Regions from separate parts of the Homo sapiens genome. Here regions 1 and 3 are each linked to region 2. The links are contacts of gene promoters, found by promoter capture Hi-C in human tissues and cell types (Jung and others, 2019). All regions are on one chromosome and are shown on one strand. The core of a region is centred on a gene start or on the middle of the fragment in contact, and the rest is flanking DNA. Distances in the headings are between cores, read along the strand shown. Region 1 holds the start of MNT (MAX network transcriptional repressor). Region 2 holds the start of SMYD4 (SET and MYND domain containing 4). Region 3 has its middle 12 kb from the start of BHLHA9.

What was found. Contacts are between HindIII fragments. The study calls those that stand out against the background at their distance.
Region 1: the fragment with the promoter of MNT here is called in contact with the fragment with the promoter of SMYD4 in region 2 in 1 of the 25 tissues and cell types used here (lymphoblastoid cells).
Region 3: a contact is called between a fragment that was not itself captured here and the fragment with the promoter of SMYD4 in region 2, in 1 of the 25 tissues and cell types used here (heart right ventricle).

The regions. Positions count from the first base shown.
Region 1 is chr17:2,398,888-2,402,559 of GRCh38, reverse strand. It overlaps MNT (MAX network transcriptional repressor), which reads left to right and starts at 1,500. Exons shown (of 6, transcript NM_020310.3): 1 at 1,500-1,920. The coding sequence starts at 1,848. RefSeq lists enhancers at 1-533, 905-954, 2,245-2,815, 2,816-3,385, 3,434-3,578 and 1 more, silencers at 255-574, 1,225-1,534, 1,725-1,804, 1,955-2,014, 2,535-3,024 and a cis regulatory region at 3,498-3,513. The HindIII fragment of the contact is 14,706 bases long and covers 1-3,672 here.
Region 2 is chr17:1,828,321-1,831,790 of GRCh38, reverse strand. It overlaps SMYD4 (SET and MYND domain containing 4), which reads left to right and starts at 1,889. Exons shown (of 11, transcript NM_052928.3): 1 at 1,889-2,065. RPA1 (replication protein A1) reads right to left here and starts at 1,786. Exons shown (of 17, transcript NM_002945.5): 1 at 1,665-1,786. The coding sequence starts at 1,697. RefSeq lists an enhancer at 390-890 and a silencer at 1,518-2,037. The HindIII fragment of the contact is 28,265 bases long and covers 1-3,470 here.
Region 3 is chr17:1,256,335-1,260,012 of GRCh38, reverse strand. No RefSeq gene overlaps it. Among named protein-coding and RNA genes, the nearest start is that of BHLHA9, 12 kb to the left of the region's middle. The HindIII fragment of the contact is 4,603 bases long and covers 1-3,678 here.

The DNA of each region.
Region 1 (3,672 bases), core at 251-2,750, 570 kb before region 2:
CAGCGGAGTTGGGTCTCAGGTGAAGATTTTTGTTGCCCCAATCACAGTGTGTTAAGTGGTCAGGGTTGCTATTCCTCCCTGGCATTTTTCTAATTGGGGGCCCTCCTCCAGAACTGGCTTCAGAGTCGTCCCTGGGGTCAGGGAAGAGTGCCCCCGCTTCGGGAGAGAGGAGCAGGTGGAATACGGAACGACCTTAGGCGAGTCCTTGGCCGTCACGGCCTCAGTTTCCTTATGTGTGAAGTGAGAGGATTTAAGGGCAGCCGGCCTCAAAGAGCTAACTCTCCGATTGCACCCGAGCTCCCCTAAACACTCGAGCCCGGAAGACGCGGGCGGGCGGGCGGGCGACGGGGGGTCCCTCCCTCTGGGGAGCGCGGTTCCAGCCGGCCGCAGCGGACCCCGCCCCCGCGCCCCGCCCACCGCCGGTCGCCAGGCGCGGGGAGGGCCGGGCTTCCGCCCTCCACGTTGTTGTTCCCGATTTGGGCCACGCCCCCCGGTCTGGGCTGCGGGCGCTTCGTGTTCCCCGCCCTGGCCCCGGCCCCAGAGGAAAGGGTGGCCCATGGGGTGGCACAGTCCGTATCTCCACCCACATCGAATACGCGTGGACAAAGACTGGAGTTCAGGGGAAGGAAAGATAAAGGCCTGGTTTTAAATGGAAGGTGGTGAAAAGGAATGGAGAGGCCAGGGCACGACTGCGGGATTCCCCTTACGGCATCCCACCCTGGGTTCGCCCAGTGGCCCCATCCGCACCCGCGAATGTGACCTGCAGACACTGGCCCTTTAAACCGAAGGCTGGCGGCGCGGGGTGTCCATGTGGAGCTGCTCCATGCCGTGTTGTCCTGCCCGCCCATTGGCTCGCGGCCCGGTGACGTCCCCTAATAGGATGCGAACGCACTGCGGGGGGAGGAACGGAGACAAAACGCGGAGCCGGACTGCCGCTCCGCTCCCTCCGCTGGTTCTCTTGACAGTCTCCAGTCGCCGGCAGCTCCGCCCAGGGGCGGATCCCGGGGGAATTGCGACAGCCCGGCGATTGCGGGATTTAGGTCGCGAGTGGGTGGAGCGTGGAGACCCAGGGTCAGGCCAGTCTCTGCCATTCCCAAGGTTTCCCTGACCCGGAATATCCTGGTTGGAACTCTGTTAAATCTTGAATTGTTCACCCTACCCTCCCTCCAGCAGGACAGATTTCGTCGTGAACGACCCAAACGCACCGCCCCGGCCCAACTTGTGGCTTGCAGCCGGGGCGGGGCCAGCAGGAAAGCGGAACCGCGGCGCGCACACCCCGCTCGGACCTCTCCCTCCCTGCCCGGGCCACGTGTGCGCGCGCCGGATCCGGGGGGCGGGGCCAGCAGCGCAGGACCCGCCCCTCCCTTCGCGAGACGCCGCGGCCCTGCGGGCGGGGGCTCCGGTCCGGGCTTTGGCTGTGGCCCCGGTGTAGTAGCGGGGGCGGCGGCCGGGGGCAGCGCGGCTCCTTCCCTTGTTGTGTGTGTCGGTGCCTCCTCGCCATCTTGTTGCAAAGCCCTTTCTTGTCGGCGGGACTCCCGGGGGCCGCGGGGCGGGAGGCATCGGAAGGGAGGTAGAGAGGGAGGGGAAGAAGGGAGGCAGTGCCGCCTTTTTTTTTTTTTTGCATCCCATTTTTTTAAATTTGCAATTTTATATTTTGCAAATATTTTGAGAGACATTGATTTTTCTCCCCGTGCTCCCCCGTTCTTCCCTGCGGAGTGCGCTGCGCCGCCCAGCCCTGTCGCCCCCCGGAGGTGATCCCTCCCTCCTGCCTGCCCGCCAGCCTGACCTGTGCCCGGCTCGCGGGCCGCAGCCTCGGCCCCGGCGCGCCCCCGGCAGCTCTCGGCGCGATGAGCATAGAGACGCTACTGGAGGCGGCCCGCTTCCTGGAATGGCAAGCGCAGCAACAACAGAGAGCACGTGGTGAGCGGCCGGGCTGGGCCCCTGGGGCACTGGGGAAGGGGAAGCGAGTGACCCCGGTCCCCGAACCCACGCGAAACCGCGGACAGGGCCCCCTCCCGGGCGGCCTGCGGAGCCTGGCAGCGCACGGCTCCCCGCGAGAGCCGCCGCCTGGGGAGGGGTGATGTGGGCAGTGAAATTAATTAATGAATTCATTAACATGCTGCGAGGGACCTGGCTCCTGCGGGCGCCACCCCGGCTGCGTGGCACCCCTGTGCCCCTTCTGTGGTGGGCTGCTTTTGCGTGGGCCAGCGGAGCCCTCGGTGGCACTGAGGATGTGTGAGCCGGGGGGTGGGGTGAGGAATGGTGTTGCGTGGGGGTGGCAGGCTCGCGTGTGCGTGCGTGTGTGCACGGGGGATGTGTGATGTGAGCCTCGGGAAGAGCAGATGAACGGACGTGTACACGGGCGTGTGTATAGCACACGAGTGGGCGTGTGTGTAACGGAGTGGGGGTGGGGACTACTCTACGCGGAGCAGCTCTTCGGCTTCCCTGGCCCCGTGGGGAGGGTGCGGGGGGCGCTCCCGGCAGATCTACGCGCCGCTTGGGGCGGAGGCGGCCTTTGCAGAATGAAATGACATCGCGTGTCTTATGATCCTGGCCAGCCCCGCCTGACCCCGCCTCCCAGAGCTGGGCTGGGCTGCGCGTCCGGGGTTTGGGTGAAAGCCGGGCTAATTGGGCGTTTGCGAAATGGCCCGCGGGTCGCTGGGGGTCAGCCCCCGGGCCCCCCTCGCTGCGCCCCGCTTTAGCCAGTGTGGAATGTGGCGTGTCTGCGCGTTCCAAACCCGCTCTCGCCTGGAATGTTGCGTGTGCCTGCGTTCCGAGCCCGTTGGTTACACCGGGTGGTGACGTGGACGGGCTCCGCCCCCGACCACGTGCACCGGGGACACTCCTGCTGGGGACGGCGCGGCCCGGCCCCTCCTCACCGCCTCGCGCTCGGCCGGGGGCGGGGCCTGGGCGGGGCTGGCAAGGGGCCTTGCGCTGGGTTGGGCCTGGGCCCGGGCCCCGGCCTCTGGGCACCTCCCAGGGAGAGCCTTTGCCCTGCGAGGGAGGAGCCGAGCTCACCTGTCGGCTCTGGCCCCTAACCTCCTGTGTTTGATCCCGAGGCAAGGGAAACCCTCAGAATCGCAGGGCGACGAGACATTTAGAGCTCACATTTTTCCACTGACCCCCAAAACGTTCCAACTATGCCCCCTGGCATCAGCCGGGGCCACGCTGGAATGAGCCAGGATGAGAAAGGGCAAACTTCGGCGCTCCCTCGAAAGGGAAGAGACTAATGACTCCTATCTTCACGCGCCCTGTTGGTGGTCCCTGGCTTCAGGGTGCTGCAGAGGGGCTGGCGGGAAAGACCTCCCTTTTCCAGGGTGCTGCCAGGGCCTCGGCTCTGGAACGGTGTGTGTGCAGGACCCGGGGACTCCTGTGCCCTCCCCGCCCCCCAGAATCCCCCGGCAGGGTTGGTTGTGTTGGAGAGTGCTTCGCCCTCCTTTCCTTTCTCTCTGCCTATTGTTGCTTCAATGATGAGTCATGCAGGAGGTAGTAGTGTGTTGTGTGCGCGCGCGCCGCCGTGTGCCGCCGCCGCGGCGGGCGGGGGTGGGGGAAGGGGGGAGCGGCAGCGGGCAAGGGGCGGGGGAGCTGCGGGGCCGGCGGCCTAGTCGGGGCGACCGGCCTCTCAAGGTCAAGAGTCACTGGAGATATGTGAGGCTCAGATGCCTGGGTTTT
Region 2 (3,470 bases), core at 640-3,139:
CGTCTCTACTAAAAAATACAAAAAATTAGCCGGGCGTGGTGGCGGGTACCTGTAGTCCCAGCTATTCGGGAGGCTGAGACAGGAGAATGGCGTGAACCCAGGAGGCAGAGCTTGCAGTGAGCCGAGATCGCGCCACTGCCCTCCAGCCTGGGCAACAGAGCAAGATTCCAGCTCAAAAAAAAAAAAAAAAGTTCAAAGGCCCCATGGAAGAAGGTAGGAGTATGGAATATACCAGAAATCTAAATTTAAAAAAAAATGTGGGGGTGACTGGAGAGGTAGGCTGAGAGTATGCTGTGGATGGGAATGGTGGCAGGAACGTATGCTGAGTGGAAGTCAGCAGCTCAGGCAAAAAAAAAGACGGTGCCAGTATGGATGGAGAGAAGCCAGTGGGCTTGATAGATCTACGCAGAGGCAAAATACACTTCACTTCGTGAGGGACTGGATGCCCAGGTAATGGACAATATAGGAGGAATGATTTCTCAATTTCTGGTTAGCACTGAACTGAATAGATAATGGTGCCATCCGTGGAGATAGGGATCAAGAGGCCCAGACTTAGAAAGATAAAGAATTTGCTTTGGGATACGTATACTGAACTTAAAACCCTCTGAAGCATGGAATAAGCAGACAGATGACGGAAGTTTGTCTTTTAGAGTAAAGGTGGCTCTGTACAAAGAAATTTGTGAGCAACTGACATATATTAATAGATGGCAATGGAATTGCCTTGGGGCCAGGCGCGGTGGTTCATGCCTGTAATTCCAGCATTTTGGGAGGCCGAGGCGGGCGGATAACTTGAGGTCTGGTGTTCGAGATCAGCCTGGCCAACATGATGAAACCCAGTCTCTAATAAAAACACAAAAAGTAGCCGAGTGTGGTGGCGCACACATGTAGTCCCAGCTACTCGGGAGGCTGAGACAGGAGACTCACTTGCACCCGGGAGACGGAGGTTGCAGTGAGCCGAGATCGCGCCTCTGCACTCCAGCCTGGGCGACAGTGAGTGTCGCCCAGGCTGGAGAAAAAAAAAGAAATTGCCTCGGGAGTCAAGAGGGCCTAGAGGGAGCCTTGATTCAACAAAAATTTACAAAGAGGGACTTACAAATAAGACGGGGATAGACCTGCCAAGCTGAGCCACTAAAAACCAAGGAAGAGGGTGTGACCTGAAGCAAGCAGGGCTTAAACGCAAACGCTGCTGAGAACTCAGGTAAGCTGAAAACGGAAAAGGGCTGGATTTAGCAACTTGGAGGCCACTGGTACCTTCAGCCAGGGTTTTCTACAGCGATCAAAGGGATGACTGGAGTGGGTTAAAGAGTTGATGAAAGGCGAGGAAAGGAAGTGGCTGAAACCAGACAAGAAGTTTGGCTGTGGGTGGGGAAAGGAGAAGAGACAGAAAGTGTCCGCAGGTGGAAGATGCAGAGAAAGGCAAGCGTTTATTTAGTTTGTTCTTACGTAGGAAAAATGTGAGCATGTTTTAAAGACGATCGAAAGAATGCTTTGAGGAGGGGGCGATGACACTAGAGGGACGCCCGGCGGGTCCCCACCGCCCCCCGCCATCTCCTCCCCTCGCGTTCATCCCCCGTCGCCCCGGGCTCCCCTCCCCCTCTCTACTCCGCGAGGCTCGGGGCCGCAGCCACCCCGGACCGCCGGCCCAGCCCCCGGCACCTCCTCACCGCAATGGCCCCCTCGCTCAGTTGGCCGACCATGGCTCCACCGCCAAGACTTCCCCGCGGACCCCGCAACAGCTCCAGCTTCCCCACCCGGGTCCCGCGCGCTGCGCAGTTATTGGCCCGAGAAGTTGCGCGCACCGCTCCCGCCCCCGACGTGCGCGCGGCTCAGGGGCGGGCCCGGGCGCTACGCAGCCGCCGCATTGGCCGAGGCGCGGCCCACGTGACCCACCCATGGTCCCAAGCGAGGCCTGGCGCGGGACGCCGGACGCGGTGCGGGGCGGAGCGGGGCGCCAAGGGGCGCGCCAGGAGCTGCGCGGGCGCTGGGAGGGAGACCAGGGCGCAGTTCCGGGCGCGTCTGAGCGGTTCTCGAGGCGTTCTCGCCTCGGTCTCTGGCGAGTGCACGGGTTGGTATCCCAGAGGAGGTTAAAGCTGTTCCTTGAGACCTCCGCTGCTAAATAGAGTCGCAGTAGTGACCCGATTCGTCCAGCAACGCGGGGCTGACTTCCCGCCTCCAAGCCCTGAGCTTGGCACCGTGGCGGTGGGGGGTGGGGGTGGGGGGTCTCCGAAAGGGAATCAGACCCGGCCCCCGTCCTTAGAGAAGAGGACAGTGTGTGGGGGCACTTTATGCCGTCAGTAACCCCACCTCCAGGTAGACGTGGTACAGGCCCCAAGGGTGTTGGAATCACAGCTGGGAAATCAGGGACGCCGTCCCGGAGGAGGTGCCATTTGAGCCGAGTCGAAGAACGTGTGGGAATTTTCCAGGTGGACTCCATAAGCCAGGGTAGGGTTGGTCCGGAAAGCATGAGTAGCCTATGCCAAAACATTGGAGAGTTGAAATAGCCTGGCAAGCCGGGGATAGCAATGAGTTGTTCAGTATGCAAGGGTGCATGCAGAGGAGTAAGTGACACCTGAGAATTAGAAAGTCAGACAAGGGTCAAGTAAGGATGGTTTTGTCCTGGGCTTCCTGGTATGCTTGGAGTAGCGTTGATGAATTTAAGGGCAGAGCACTGACTTCTGTCTCAGTGTTGGAGGCTGGATTGAAAGTGGGGAGTGGTGCCAATGGCATGGACATTAATTATAACACTCTAGGAAGAATGCCAGACGAGATGGTGAGGACTTAATCAGAACGCTGAACTATGTAAGAGAGGGAAATACCTTGTTAAATGAATAGTTGCTGGGGTGGGTGAGAAAGAAAAATCTGGGATGTGTCTCAGAGAAACTAGAGAGGGATCAGGCCGGGCGCGGTGGCTCACGCCTGTAATCCCAGCGCTTTGGGAGGCCAAGGCTGGCGGATCATCTGAGGTCAGGAGTTCGAGACCAGCCTGGCCAACATGGTGAAACCCCGTCTCTACTAAAAATACAAAAATTAGCCGGGCGTAGTTGCGCGCATCTGTAATCCCAGCTACTCGGAGGCTGAGGCAGGAGAATTGCTTGAACCTGGGAGGCGGAGGGTGCAGTGAGCCGAGATGGTGCCACTGCACTCCAGCCTGGGTGACAGAGCAAGACTCTGCCTCACAAAAAAAAAAAAAAGAGGATCTAAGAGCACAGATGGTAGCTATCTAGTCTGCTTCGTCTTTGTATAACCATCACCTGCATGGTGCCTGTGACAAAGTAGTCTTTCAGTAAATATTTCTGAATGGAAGGATGTTGAGTGAATTGCTGTGAGAAAATATAGATCCTTCCTTAGCATATAAACTAGAGGAAAAGACCACAAGAATTGATTTTATTGTTTCAGGCTTCCTTGAATGAAATCTTGATTTTCCTTTTTTTTTTTTTTCCGAGACAGAGTCTTGCTCTGTCACCCAGGCT
Region 3 (3,678 bases), core at 636-3,135, 570 kb after region 2:
GTTTCCCCTGACTGCAAAGCTTCCGTTCTCAATTACTTTATTTATTTAATTTTTTTTTTTTGAGGCGGAGTCTCGCTCGGTCTCCAGGCTGGAGTGCAGCGGCGCGATCTCGGCTCACTGCAAGCGCCGCCTCCCGGGTTCACGCCGTTCTCCTGCCTCAGCCTCCCCCGAGCAGCTGGGACTGCAGGCGCCCGTCACCACGCCGGGCTAATTTATTTTTGTATTTTATTTTTGTAGAGATGGGGGTGGGGTGGGTCTCATTTTGTGGGCCAGGCAGGTCTCGAACTCCGCCCGCCTCGCTTGGCAAAGCGCCGGGACTACAGGCTGAACCGCGTGCCCGGCGGGAACTGGGCTCCTCTCTTTGGCATCTCTCCCCACTCACTCCTTTTCTGTCCCTTTTGATCGGCTCCTCTTCTTCCGACAATCCCTTAAAGGTCAAATGTCTCCTTTCAGCTGCAGCTTCTCTCCCGACGTTCAGAGCCGTGTTCCCGTGTCCGGGTGACCGTTCCGCAGACATCTCCACCCAGTTCCCACACTCTGCTCCCTGGCTCCCCGGCTCCCCACCGGGGTGAACGAGCAAAGGAACAAAACCATCGCCCACCCTCCCACCGCCTCCCGCCATCATTGTGGCGGACTCAGAAGGGAACTTTTTATTCCTAGACTCCAAACCTTAGCAACTTTGGAAAGAGAAACGTGGGGCGTGAAGAACAAAAGTGGAACCCCGGCGCCCTCTTCTGGTCAGAAAGTGGAACTCCAGGCCGGGCGCGGTGGCTCACACCTGTAATCCCAGCACTTTGGGAGGCCTGGGCGGGCGGATCTCTTGAGGTCAGGAGTTCGAGACCAGCCTGGCCAACATGGCGAAATCCCGTCGCTACCAAAATACAAAAATTAGCCGGGCGTGGTGGCGGGCGCCTGTAATCCCAGCCACTTGGGAGGCTGAGCCAGGAGAATCGCTTGAACCTGGGAGGTGGAGGTTGCAGTGAGCCCAGATCACGTCACTGCACTCCAGCCTGGGCGACAGAGCAAGACTCCATCGTCTCAAAAAAAAAAGAAAAAAGTTGAACCCCATGAAGCGCTCAGTTCAGGCCTCTTGTTGGGCTAAGGCCCTGCTGCTTGGTGCTGTCCACCTGGGGCTGCCCCTGCAAAAGCTGAAGTTTTATGTCTTGTCATCTGTGCTGGGAGAGGAAGCTGCTCTTTTGCGCTGGTCAGGTTCTTCCTGCACTTCTCTTGGAGGACCTTCAGGTCTTCATCATGTACAACCCGCAGTTTCATTGCACGTAGCCCACCTCTCCTGTCTCAGAGGAAAAATTGATACCATCAGATGCGAACCCTCAGCTTCCTGCCTGGGCCCACAAAGAGATCTGTCTGCACCCATTTGCACGTCCTGCTGTCTGAAGATAACCCTGCTGCTGGGGCGGTGGGGGAAGCATCTCCACTCCCACCCTCACAGAAGGTACACTTTGAGCCGCTAGCTATTATTCCCTCTCTCCAGTTGCTTTTTGATCTTTCATGGGTTTTTGGGGGGTGTTTTTTTGTTTTTTGTTTTTGCTTTTTGAGACAGGGTCTTATTCTGTCACTGAGGCTGGGAGGCAGTAGCATAATCACAGCTCACTGCAGCCTCGACCTCCTGGGCTCAAGCAATCCTTCCACCTCAGCCTCCCGAGCAGCTGGGATTGCAGGCATGCGCCACCAAGCCCGGCTAATTTTTTGTATTTTCAGTAGAGATGGGATTTCACCATGTTGGCCAAGTTGGTCTCGAACTTCTGACCTCGTGATCCACCCACCTCCGCCTCCCAAAGTGCTGGGATTACAGACGTGAGTCGCCGCGACCGGCCACCCATTTTTTGTGCTTTAATGAACGTTATTTTTTAGAATGATTTTAGATGTACAGAAAAACTAGGCCGAGCGAGTGGCTCCTGCCTGTAATCTCAGCACTTTGGGAGCCTGAGGTGGGTGGATCACTGGAGGTCAGGAGTTTGAAACCAGCCTGGCGAACATGGTGAAACCCCGTCTTTACTAAAAATACAAAAAGTAGCCAGATGTGGTGGCACACACCTGTAATCCCAGCTACTTGGGAGGCTGAGGCAGGAGAATCGCATAAATCCAGGAGGTGGAGGTTGCAGTCAGTGGAGACTGTGTCATTGCAATCCAGCCTGGGGGACAAGAGTGAAACTTTGCCTCAAAAGAGAAAGAAAGAAAAAAAAAAGATGTACAGAAAAACTGAGAAGCGAATACCAAGAGTCCCCCATGTATCCTGAACCCATTTCCTTGTTATTAACATATCACATTACTGTAGTACATTTATTACAATTAACGAATCAATATTGTCATATCATTATTATTAAGAAACCCTGTCTCTACGAAAAATTAAAAAATTAGCTGGGGGTGGTGGTATGCATCTGTAGTCCCAGCTACTCAGGAGGTTGAGGTGGGAGGATCCCTTGAGCCCAGGAGTTTGAGGCTGCAGTAAGCAAAGATCACGTCACTGCACTCTAGCCTGGGCGACAAAGCGAGACCCAGTCTCTAAAAAGTAGAAATAGGCCGCACGCGGTGGCTCATGCCTGTAATCCCAGCACTTTGGGAGGCCGAGGCGGGTGGATCACCTGAGGTCAGGAGTTCAAGACCAGCCTGACCAACATGGCAAAAACCCGTCTCTGCTAAAAATACAAAATTCGCCGGGTTCGGTGGTGCATTCCTGTAATCCCAGCTACTTGGGAGGCTGAGGCAGGAGAATTGCTTGAACCTGGGAGGTGGAGGTTGCAGTGAGCCAAGATCGTGCCACTGCACTCCAGCCTGGATGACAGAGCAAGACTCCATCAAAAAAAAAAAAAAAAAAAGTAGAATTAAAAAAGGGGTTTCAGGCCTACAAGGAGTCAGAAAAATTTCCCTCATGTGCATGAAATTGAGGCAGGTGAACATGATCAAAGAGATCAGAACTGCCTCAGAGATAGGAGTCTGGCAGGTGAGGGAAAGGAAGAAGGAAGTGCTGGGCAGCCGGGGAAGCTTGGCGAGGGGTGGACTGGTGAGCATGGGGCGTCAGCCTTTGTCCCCCGACCCCCACCCGCACACATACAGCCGGATGGGCCCCGGCTCTGTGGCCTCCAACTCTCACCCTTGAAGCTGCTGCAGTGAGCGCCGGAGAAAGAAGCCAGGAAGGAAACTGCTCCCACCCAGCACCTCCACCCGCCAGGAGCTGGCCGGTGTGGTTTCCATTTCTGCTTGTTTTCCTGGCGTCCACCCTCCGTTCTCTCACTAAAGTGATCTCTCTTGGCCGGGTGCGGTGGCTCACGCCTGTAATCCCAGCAATTTTGGGAGGCTGAGGCGGGTGGATCACCTGAGGTCAGGAGTTCAAGACCAGCCTGACCAACATGGTGAAACCCCATATCTACTAAAAATACAAAAAGTAGCCGGGCATGGTGGTGGGCACCTGTAGCCCCAGCTACTCAGGAGGCTGAGGCAGGAGAATCGCTTGAACCCGGGAGGCGGAGCTTGCAGTGAGCTGAGATCGTGCCATTGCACTCCAGCCTGGGCGACAGAGTGAGACCCTGTCCAAAAAAAAAAAAAAAAAAAAAAAAAACAACTCCCTTTTCTGTTGGAGCATCTCCATTCCTTTGTCCTCAGCACTTCGAATGGGATTGGCTTATGCCTGTCGGAGACTCCCCTCTTGGCCACAGCACA